3 separate regions of the Homo sapiens genome follow, and regions 1 and 2 are each linked to region 3. The links are contacts of gene promoters, found by promoter capture Hi-C in blood cells and fetal thymus (Javierre and others, 2016). All regions are on one chromosome and are shown on one strand. Each heading gives the region's core, a stretch centred on a gene start or on the middle of the fragment in contact. The rest is flanking DNA. Distances are from core to core; before and after follow the strand shown.

Region 1 (3,906 bases), core at 871-3,370, 560 kb before region 3:
GTTCTCTCCAGAAGGCTACAAACATATCCTCATCTGCGTAAATGTAAGGCACTGCACACATACTTTAATTCCTGAGGTACTTAAAAAATATACATCAACAACCAAAATTCTTCACGAACAGGTTCTTCTAACATATCAGACTCATTTAAGTAAAACTAATCACTCAATATTGTACACAGAGGAAGCAATTCTGCACACTCTGAAGGGCTACTATTTTAATACTGTACAGAAACATAATTAGCATGCCAGCAAAAACTCCATCTTAACAGAAATGAAAGATTCAGAGCAACTAAATCCATCCCTAGGTGCCAGAGCTGACTGTATATTATGGAAGGAAAATACTTTTCGCCTGTGTTTTGAAAGGTCTTCTTTCACCAACTCTCTAACTGAACTGAGATACATATCTTCAGAGCTCTTATAGCCAAATACAGAAATGAAGATTAGAACAAATGTTCAATATTGAAGGTTAGTTCACTAACCTGGGAAGTATAATTATTTGGAAAGTTTATATGATTCCAGGAAAAAGCTGATTTGCCCTGGGCTTAACATTAGTAACTTACAGAAAGTTAGCATGTCTGGCTGGCTGGGAGCAATTCCATTGATGTCTCAGAGTGACATTCTACATTATGGTTCATTAGAATTAGATTATCCAGGTTCCTTTAAGGTGTATTCCATGATGCAATGACAAAATTATTGCTAATTTGGGAAAAATAAGAGTCTCGTTAAGTTTGGGAGAGAAGAGTCTTGATCAAGCTCCCTGAAGGCAAGGAAGTGTTTGCTTGGCATGTATTAATTAATATTTACTGAATGGGCCAGGCACGGTGGCTCACACCTGTAATCCCAGCACTTAGGGAGGCCAAGGCAGGTGGATCACTTTAGGTCGGGAGTTTGAGACCAGCCTGCCCAATAGGGTGAAACCCCATCTCTACTAAAAATACAAAAATTAGTGTGATGGTGCATGTCTGTAATCCCAGCTACTGGGGAGGCTGAGGCAGGAGAATTGCTTGAACCCAGGAGGTGGAGGTTGCAGCGAGCCAAGATTGTGCCACTGCACTTCAGCCTGGGCAACACAGCAAGACTCCATCTCAAAAAAAAAAAAAGTACCAAATGAGTAAACTAAGGATAAAGTGGACCTTGCTTGAAGTAGAAGGATCCAATCTACCCTTGATTCTGGGCAAACTGGAACCTTGAGTGTGTTTGTGTGTGGATGTCTGTGGCACAGGCTTAAAAAGTGAACAATTATAATGATAAGTGAGCCCTCAAAAATGAATGAAGCATGATGAGAAAAATATGCTCCCTTTTGGAAATAAAATGCTCACTTGCTAGTAGTAGATCACTTGTTCGTGGCAAGCTTGAGAGTAAAGGAGGTAATTTACTACCAGTGGGTCTGAGAGACTCTGGGACAAACCAACTTGCTAAACTACCACCCATGTAAAGCAGGGTTAAGTCAACATAGCGTGGCCCCCACAGCCCTGTGCCTTAGTGATCATCATTTACCGTCCAGAGCTGTGCGGCTCTGGGCAGCCATAACTCAGAGCCCCTGCAGCCAGGTAATATTTTCAAGTTCTTCATGAACCAAGGGTTATGCATGACACTTGAATTACAACTGATGTGGGGGAATGATTAGTGATCAATCTAATTGATAGATTACTCTATCTTTGAACTTCAACTCCTTAAGCTTTACATTTGCAGTCAAAATATCTTATTAGTGTCAGAAACTATTTCAGACCTGAGGCACTGGGTGTCATTCATCAACAGGGCATCACTCATTGGTGCTGAAATTGTGATTACTGAGCAACTAAGACTTGAAAGCAGTCACCATTCTGCTTTGCAAATGCAAGAGAGTACGTTTTTTTGAGGGTAACCTTATATTCCATTATCTAGCATATTGCTTCATAATAAGAAAACAACAACAATGGCTAATACAGGTATAATGCTTTACGTGTTGGACATTGTTCTAAAGGCATTACATGTATTAACTTATTTAATCCTCTAAACCCATGAGGTAATACTACTGTCAACATTCCCCCCATTTTACAGAAGAGGAAACAGACATCAGCAAATAAATAAGCAAAGCACGCAGTACGCTAGGTGGTGATGAAGTATGACAGCAATAGTAAAGCAGGGAAAGGCATTAGGGAATGACAGAGGTTGGAAAGGGGCATTGTGCAACTTTAAATTGAGGGCCCAGGAAAAGCCTTGCCAAGAAGGTGACATCTAAACTAAAATCTGAAGGTGGTGAGGAAGCAAACCATGTGATATCTGGAGGGAAAGCATTTAAGAGAGTGGGAAGACAAAACGCAAAGATCTTGAATCAGGACTGTCTGGTATTCCAGAGAAAGCAAGGAGGCCAGGGGAAAAAGGTAAGCAGAAGGGCAAATCCCATGAGATTAGCACAGAGGTAAGGAGGGAAGATGTGGGGACAGGAAGTAGAAATTGTAGGACCCTGTAGGCTTTTACTGAGTGAGATAGGAGCCATTTTTGAGCAGAGTGAAATGATCTGACTTATGTTTTAAGTCAGGATCCCTCTGACCACTGTGTTAATTAAGAAGACTGTATGATATAAGCTTAGGAGCAAGGACACTAGTAGGAGGCTATTGTAATAATCCAAGCAAGAGAAACAATGGTGGCTTTGTATCAGAGGTGTAGTGGTAGGGTTAGTGAGAAGTAGTCAGATTCTGACTGTATCTGAAGGTGGAGCTCATAGAATTGGCTGACTGGATGTCGGCTATGAAAGACAGGAGGCAAGCAGGAGGCAAGCAGGGTGCCAAGGGTTCTGGCCTGAGCACTCCTGAGAGGCTGAGGACTCAGAGGAGCAGGCTTGAGGTGGTAGAGGGATGAGGGGAGACTTGGAATTCAATCTTGGACATGTTGAGTTTGAGGGGCCTATTAGACAGTTCCTCCAATTAAATCTACAAGAGGCCGGGCGCGGTGGCTCACGCCTATAATCCCAGCACTTTGGGAGGCCGAGGCGGGCAGATCACCTGAGGTCAGGAGTTCGAGACCAGCTTGGCTAACATGGTGAAACCCCATTTCTACTAAAAATACAAAAAACTAGCCAGGCGTGGTGGCACACACCTGTAATCCTAGTTACTTGGGAGGATGAGGCAGGAGAATCGCTTGAACCCAGGAGGTGGAGGATGCAGTGAGCTGAGATCACGCATTGCACTCCAGCCTGGGTGACAAGAGTGAAACTCCATCTCAAAAAAAAAAAAAAAAAAAAAAACCTATAAGAAGCCTCTTCAGGCTACCTCAGAATCACTTCACTAAACACCTCCTATGGGGCAGACATTGTGTTTAGGAGGGTAGGTCTGGCATCAGATACCAGGTTTGTTTTCTGGCTCCACTAGTTACTGTCAATCCTATGACCTTGGGAAGGGGCACTGTGAAAAGTGAGGAAACAACTTACGGTTTCTGGGCCTCAGTTTCTTCATCTGTAAATGGAGAGAACAGTAACTATGTCCCCAGGTAGTTGTGAACAAGCTAACACATGTAAAACACTTAGAACCCTATCTGAGCTGGCCGGGCACGGTGGCTCACGCCTGTAATCCCAGAACTTTGGGAGGCAGAGTCAGGCGGATCACAAGGTCAGGAGATCGAGACCATCCTGGCTAACACGGTGAAACCCCATCTCTACTAAAAATACAAAAAATTAGCCGGGCGTGGTGGCGGGCACCTGTAGTCCCAGCTACTCGGGAGGCTGAGGCAGGAGAATGGCGTGAACCCAGGAGGCAGAGCTTGAAGTGAGCCAAGATGGCACCTGGCACCACTGCACTCCAGCCTGGGCGAGAGTGCGAGACTCTGTCTCAAAAAAAAAAAAAAAAAAAAGAACCCTATCCTATCTGTGCTGCAAAGCAAGTTCAATAAATGTTAGCTATTTATGCTTCATCTCATTAAGGGCTCACA
Region 2 (3,864 bases), core at 949-3,448, 540 kb before region 3:
CAGGCGCGAGCCACCGCGCCCGGCCGGCTCCTCTTATGCATTCTAAAGTTTGTGACCTACTGTTTCCTGACCCATCCTGATTAGTCCTGGGCTTTTAATTGTGCATATCTGCACAATTAAATCTTAATTGGTATTAATTTGGTAGTAGATTCTAATACTGTACTTTTTTCTCCTTTTCATGATGGGTAATAAGTGAGCAAGCAGCACTTGCGAAGCGCAGTTTCAAGTGAAGGATGCATCTGTGATGCAAAATCATCGACCATTTATTTGTAATGGTGTGTATGTAACCTTCACCAAGGTATTTTACTGGGGCTAGTGCTTTTACAGGCATTTCCAACTTTGTAGATTGCTACCTCTGGATCTGAGAAACTGCAGCTAAAGTGAAGTCGGCTTTAATACTGTTTCATGGATTCATTGGTACACCCTCCCACCGTGTTTATTTGTATTTTGCAATTGTTTGAGATTATTGTTTTGGTTTTTTGCACTAAGCAATTGCTTGGTTAATCCTAAACAACCACAGTGATGAGGAAAGCATGTGATTGTAACTAACTGCCTAGGGTGAGTACCTTTCAGTGAGGGTTTGATTTCAGTGTTAGCCAGAGAAGGCACTAGTAGCCATATTATTAGAAGATTGTAGTAAATTGTAAAGTCTGATCGGGAGTTTTGTTATTTTTTATGTAGCAAGACAGAAATTTTGTAGTTCAAATTGAGGTTTTTATATTCTAGATCTCAACCTGAAAATGAAATTACTTAATCATTAACACTGATTCTAATATCTGAAATGAGTTTTCTTCCATTTATCAAACTCAAGCCTACCCTTCCTTCCATGAAGGTTTAACATGAAGGTTTAATAATTTATGAAGGAAATTGAACTATGTTCTTTTCTAAAATCTTTGGAATGTTAGCAGATACTGTCATTGACACTGAAAAGTTGTTTAGAAAAGGAAAAATAGCTAAAGCTTCTGTCCACATTTTTTACTTGTATACTTTTTCTTTTTGCTTTAAAAATGTTCAGAATTTGGGAGCAAAAATTGAAAGCAAAAAACTAGTAATTATAATGCATGATGGCATCTATTAATATGTATTTTACTAGTTTTCATTCAGAGTCACCAAAATGTTCATAGTAACTTACTATGTTACTATGGAGTAAGATAGAAAAGCATTTTCTACCCTGCTCCCTGCCCCCCCCCCTTTTTTTTTTTGAGACAGAGTCTAGCTCTGTCACCCAGGCTGGAGTGTAGTGGCATGATCTTGGCTCACTGCAACCTCCACCTCCTGGCCTCAGCGTCCCGAGTAATTGGGATTGCAGGTGTGGGCCACCACGCCCGGCTAATTTTTGTATTTTTAGTCGACAGGGTTTTGCCATATTGGCCAGGCTGGTCTTGAACTCCTGACCTCAAGTGATCGGTCCGCCTCAGTCTCCCAAAGTGCTGAGGTTACAGGCGTGAGCCACTGCGCCCGGCTGGCATTTCCTACCTTACTCCATAGTAAAATAGTAAGTGTTGGCTTCTCAGAATTGCCAGCAGTCCATGTGTTATATGTGTATGTAATTGCTATTTGCTTTTCTTCCCAAAACATACAGAATTAGAGTGAATAGTATAATAAATTGAACTCCCCATGTACCCATGCCCAATTTAGCAATATTAGCACATAGTCAATATTATTTCCTCTGTATCCCTTCCATTATTTTGAAGCAATTCTGTTATTGTCAACCTTAAAGCGGTCATTGTATATCTGTAAAATACAAGGACTTTAAAAAAAAAACATAGCCGACCGGGCATGGTGGGTCACCTGTAATCTCAACATTGGGAGGCCAAGGCAGGCAGATCACTTGAGGCCAGGAGTTCGAGACCAGCCTGGCCAACATGGTGAAACCCTGTCTCTAATAAAAAATAAAAAAATTAGCTGGGCGTAGTGGTGCATTCCTGTAATCCCAGCTACTCTGGAGGTTGAGGCAGGAGGATCCTTTCAACCCAGGAGGCAGAGGTTGCAGTGAGCCGAGATGGTGCCACCACAGTCCAGCCTGGGCAACAGAGTGACACTCTGTCTCAAAAAAAAAATAGAATAAAATAACCACAATACCATAATCACTGAAAATTATAGTAAGGTATTTCGTAAATCTTTGGTTGCTTTAGGAAAATTGTGTGTGTGTGTGTGTGTGTGTGTGTGTGTGTGTCATTATATATGTTATTAGCCTTGATTTCCTCACAAAAGGAGAAGGTAGCTTAAGTTTGTAAATTTGACTTTTTTGCTAATACAGTTCTTCGTTTTATGAAATATTTTCTCTTTTTTTTTTTTTTTTTACCCCCGAGATGGAGTCTTGCTCTGTTGCCCAGGTTGGAGTGCAGTGGTGTGATCTCAGCTCACTGCAACCTCCACCTCCCGGGTTCAAGCGATTCTCCTGCCTCAGCCTCCAGAGTAGGTGGAATTACAGGTGCATGCCACCATGCCTGACTAATTTTTGTGTTGTTGTAGAGATGGGGTTTCACCATGTTTGCCGGGCTGGTCTTGAACTTTTGACAACAAGTGATCCTCCCTCGGCCTCCCAAAGTGCTGGGATTACAGGGGTGAGCCACCATGCCCAGCCTTTCTCTTCATTTCTTATAGTAAGTTAGGAAAATTGTTGTATTCATTTATCCAACAAAAATGTATTGCTCGGCTGGGAGCGGTGGCTCACGCCTGTAATCCTAGCACTTTGCGAGGCTGAGGCGGGTGGATCACCTGAGCTCAGGAGTTTGAGACCAGCCTGGCCAACATGGCGAAACCCTGTCTCTACTAAAAATACAAAAATTAGCCAGGTGTGGTGGCGCACGCCTGTAATCCCAGCTACTCGGGAGGCTGAGGAAGGAGAATCGCTTGAACCCGGGAGGTGGAGGTTGCAGTGAGCCGAGATCACGCCACTGCATTCCAGCCTGCGTGACAGGAGCAAGACTCCATTTCAAAAAAAAAATTAAAAGTATTGCTCTTAGGTAGATAACAGCAGGATAGTACAGATACAGCACTTGGTCCTAAAGAGCCATCATGTATTGGTGACAGTAAATGCACTTTTTTTTTCCAATGGGGATTATTCCAATTGAATGTAAACGCATTTCCATAACAGAATATGATAAATCCTACCATTGGGAAAAGTAAAATTGACCCTTGAACAACACGGGTTTGAGTTGAGTGTGTCCATTTATACGTGGAGTTTTTTCAATAAATATATTGGAACATTTTTTGGAGATTTGCAACAATTTGAAAAAACTTGAAGACGAATCACATAGCTTAGAAATATTTTTAAAATTTAAGAAAAGATAAGTACATCACAAATACATAAAATAGATGTATATACTAGTTTATCATTTTCCTACCACAAAATACATACGAATCATAAAAAGTTAAACTTTATAAAAACTTATGCACACAGTACATGGTGCCACTAGCAGTCCAGAGAAAGTAAAGCTTGAGTAATAACTGCATAAAATTAACTATAGTACATACTGTAATACTGTAATAATTTTGTAGCCACCTGTTGCTATTACAGTGAGCTCAAGTGTTGCCAGGCTCCACTTAAAATGCCCTATGACCTGTGACTCTTGATAATCTCTGCATGAGCAGTTGGTGTCTAAAGTAAATTGCATATCACAGTAAAAAATTATCCCTTGGTTCTTGTGTATTTTCATCATTGTTTATTGCAATACCGTATAAACTTGTTGTTTTGCTTTTTGTTGTTGTTGTTTTTGAGACAGTCTTGCTCTGTCGCCCAGGCTGGAGTGCAGTGGTGCCATCTCGGCTCACTGCAACCTCTGCTTCCCAGGTTCAAGCAGTTCTCATACCTCAGCCTCCCAGGTAGCTGGGATTACAGCCGTGTACCACCATGTCTGG
Region 3 (3,566 bases), core at 512-3,011:
AGATTCTTAGGCCAATAAAACTACTTTTAGAGGCAGCATAGCTCACCAAATGAAGGAGAATGTTAGAAAAACACCCAGTGACAATAGTTTCAACTATCTCAACCACCCAGTGATAAGTACTGGTGCATGCTAATATAAGGAGAATTAAAAATATTGTAAACTCTAAACAAGTATTAAAATGGTTCGTAAATTTCAAATCTCATAAAAGATAGTTACTTAAAAAAAAAAAAGAAGGAGTAAAAGCATTTGGAAGAGAGGCCCTTGGAGGAAAGACTAGCTTCCGAGGAACACAGGTCAAATACGGGTGTGGGCGGTAATCATCTAATCATCCCTCTACCAGGTGATGCTTCTAACCACTTCAGTTTTAGACATCCTTAGAAGTGATTTAGGTAATAAACAAATGTGTTTTGTGATACAAGAACCACGGAGATGACGCTGAAATTTCTAACTTCAAAAAGATGCACTCCTAAGAGAAAACAGGCACGAAATTCCCATATTGTAATTCTTTAGCTTCCTGTAGAAAAACATCTTCAGGCATGTAAGCCAGCACACTTGACACTGACCCAGCAAAGTTTTCGGCTAGCCCTCACTATCTCTCAACCCCCCTTCCTCCACTTCCCTGCTGTTCTTTCTTGGCACACAAAATATAGGCCAATGAGCAGTGGGTGGGTGAGGAGGATGTGAGAGAAAATTTGAGAAGTAAAAAAAGGAGCAACTTAACCAGGACATGAATGAGACTGAAGGGTCTAATAAGGGTAGGCAGACAACAATTAGAACTACTGAAATATGGGCTTTCCTGGGCAGTAGTGAGCTCTCAGTGCTTTTAGGGGTGTAAGCAGGGTTCAGACTACCTACCACTTGTCAGAGAGGCTGCAGAGGGGACGGCTGCTTTGGATGACCTCTAATGTCTCTTCCGACTCTGAAATGTTAGGATTCTTATTTCACAAAGGAGAACGCAATGGTCACAGAAGTCCACCGACTTGAAACCCTTTTAAATATGCAGCCTTGGAGGCTGCTTCCCAAACACCACTCCCACCTCTCCCGCACGTGCCCACCCCGCCCCCTTTCAATATTTCCACCTCCACGTGCAAACCGCCTCGCGGCACTGCCCCCAAGGCAGATAGACACCTTCCCCTGCAAAGCAACGAAACTGTGCTCCCCCTCCCCGCCAAGAAGAGAGGACTACTCCACTCTCCCACCCTGGGTGGCTAAAAAAGGAAAAGTCTCGGATCCAGCCTTTCCCCCCTAGCCAGAGCAGGGGGCGGGGGCAGGACGCAGAGAAAAACTTTCTTCTCGAATTTTTCTTCCAAAGGGTGGAGGAGATGGAGAGAACCCCAACGAGTCCAAGGCTGACGGGGTGGGGGGAGGGGAACCCCTGAATCGTTTAACGGCTGGAAGGGGGAGGGGGGCTCCGGAGGTTGAGAGGGCGTGGGATGGAGAAGCAGGCCAGGGAGCGGGGTCAGGGAGCTGCGGGGTTCCTGGGGTCGGAGAGCTGCAGGCGTCCCCCCCACCTGGCACACAAAGCGGCTGCCGCGCTCGGCTCTCACCAGATCCTTTGTGTTTTCCATCAGGGCCTCATGGGTAGGGGTTGTCCGTGCTCCCCGAGCCCGCGGCGCCCCCTCCCCGGGCTGGGGGCAGGTGCCTCTCCCCGGGACTGCGGCGACTACAGGGGGCCCCCGGCTGGGCCCAGACCGGTGGCGGGTGCAGCAGCCCCCGGATTTCCCCCCTTTAACTCGGGTGGCCCCAGGATATCAACAACATTAGCATAGCCCTCCCTCCCCAGCGCGCCTGCGCCGTGACCCGCGCCCCGATTGGCCCACTTCCCTACATACCCTCCTCTCTCGCTTCCACCGTGGGACCCTCTGCAGGCTCCGTACTCCAAGGACCGTACCAAGACGAAGGGTGGAAAGCGTATTGGGGCTTGTGTCAAGTCAAGTGGTTACAGCCAAGAGGAAAAGCAGAAGTTCCATTCAGCCGTCCCAGTGTATAGTCGGGGTTTCTTGCGCTCCTTTCAATATGTTGCAGCTGCGAAATTGTGTTGGAAAAATTTTCCACTCCAGTCACGCCGCTTCCCCCTACACCCGGAAGATTGGCCCTCCCGGAGGAACTCCCACACGGGGCGGGGCTGGGTAGGGGAGCGGGAGTTACGTAGAGGGAGGGAGTGCTGGTCACGTGGCAAGAGGCTGCGCAGGCTCCTTCCGGCCCCCGGGGCTTCGGCGGCGGCGGCCCGCGAGGGGCCTGGGCGCATGCGCAGCGAGGTTCCACGTGAGCGCCTGCGTTTCTCCTCAAACCTAACGATGCCGCCGGAGCGGAGGAGACGAATGAAACTGGACCGGAGAACCGGAGCGAAGCCGAAGCGGAAGCCCGGAATGAGGCCGGACTGGAAAGCCGGAGCGGGGCCAGGCGGGCCTCCCCAAAAGCCTGCCCCTTCATCCCAGCGGAAACCGCCGGCCCGGCCGAGCGCGGCGGCCGCTGCGATTGCAGTCGCGGCGGCGGAGGAAGAGAGACGGCTCCGGCAGCGGAACCGCCTGAGGCTGGAGGAGGACAAACCGGCCGTGGAGCGGTGCTTGGAGGAGCTGGTCTTCGGCGACGTCGAGAACGACGAGGACGCGTTGCTGCGGCGTCTGCGAGGCCCGAGGGTGAGGGAGGCCGCGGCGCGCGGGCTGGGCGCACTCGGGCGGGGCGCGCGGTGGGCGGTGAAGCTCCGGGGGGCGGAGCCTGGGCGACCTGCGGCGGCGGGGAGCGCTCAGGTGGGAGGGAGCCCGAGAACGCGGGCGCGGAGGGTCGCAGCTGCGGGTCCCTCGCCTCCCTGCTCCAGACTGAAAGTGCCTGGAGGGCGGGGACCGCGTCTTTCTCCGCCCCTGGAGGCGCCGCTGCTCGGGTATCTGCTTTGCGAACTGTGGTCGTGAGCATCTTTCGCTGCTGCTCGACTCCGCTAGCCTCTTCCCAAACTGAGGGTGGTCTTTTGATCACCTGCCTCAGTTCCTTGTGATTCAGGAATTCGATTTCGTTGATGGAATCAATTCGTGGGCACGGGCCTGGGCATCTCCGTTGTAACTATGTCCCCATGTGACTATGAGACCCACCATGTTTTGAGAATGATCGTGTATTCCGTTCATTTAGCAAATATTGGTGAACCTGTTAGTTGCCAGATACCCTTTCTGGCAATGGCAAACCCTGCGTGATTGATCATACTTTTTGCACACATTTTGCTATCCCTTTAAATTCTATACCAGGCTTTTCTTGAGAGAGTCCCGGACATTGTTCTAGGCACTGGAGGAGACACAGCAATGGACAAAACTGACAAAAATCCCTGCCTTTTGGCGCTTGTGTGCTAGTGGCAGAGACAAGATAGAGGAGATAAACGAGTAAACTTCAGGTTTGTTGGTGACAAGTGCTGAAGAGAAAAAAGGACATTCGGGAAAGGGAGATGGGCGTGTGTAGAGGCCTGTGAAATTTTAGATAAAGGGGGCAGAGGAAAGCTCACCGAGAATTACCCAGGCCATGTTTATTACACAAATGCTGACCTAGTTAATGTCAGCTGCTTACCAGAGCCGCCTTCGGGT

What was found. The method cuts DNA at HindIII sites, captures the fragments that hold promoters and counts their contacts. A CHiCAGO score of 5 or more calls a contact.
Region 1: a fragment that was not itself captured here is called in contact with the fragment with the promoter of MBTD1 in region 3 in 1 of 17 cell types (neutrophils); the score reaches 5.9 in neutrophils.
Region 2: a fragment that was not itself captured here is called in contact with the fragment with the promoter of MBTD1 in region 3 in 2 of 17 cell types (neutrophils and naive CD8 T cells); the score reaches 6.9 in neutrophils.

What each region holds. Positions count from the first base shown.
Region 1 is chr17:50,701,313-50,705,218 of GRCh38, forward strand. All of the region lies in intron 1 of ANKRD40 (ankyrin repeat domain 40), which reads right to left. Among named protein-coding and RNA genes, the nearest start is that of ANKRD40, 4.6 kb to the right of the region's middle. The HindIII fragment of the contact is 889 bases long and covers 1,677-2,565 here.
Region 2 is chr17:50,722,471-50,726,334 of GRCh38, forward strand. All of the region lies in intron 1 of LUC7L3 (LUC7 like 3 pre-mRNA splicing factor), which reads left to right. Among named protein-coding and RNA genes, the nearest start is that of LUC7L3, 4.8 kb to the left of the region's middle. RefSeq lists an enhancer at 2,466-2,965. The HindIII fragment of the contact is 2,482 bases long and covers 958-3,439 here.
Region 3 is chr17:51,258,288-51,261,853 of GRCh38, forward strand. MBTD1 (mbt domain containing 1) reads right to left here and starts at 1,762. Exons shown (of 17, transcript NM_017643.3): 1 at 1,548-1,762; 2 at 856-919. UTP18 (UTP18 small subunit processome component) reads left to right here and starts at 2,259. Exons shown (of 14, transcript NM_016001.3): 1 at 2,259-2,639. The coding sequence starts at 2,298. RefSeq lists silencers at 1,500-1,819, 2,160-2,269, 2,620-2,809 and an enhancer at 3,280-3,329. The HindIII fragment of the contact is 12,089 bases long and covers 1-3,566 here.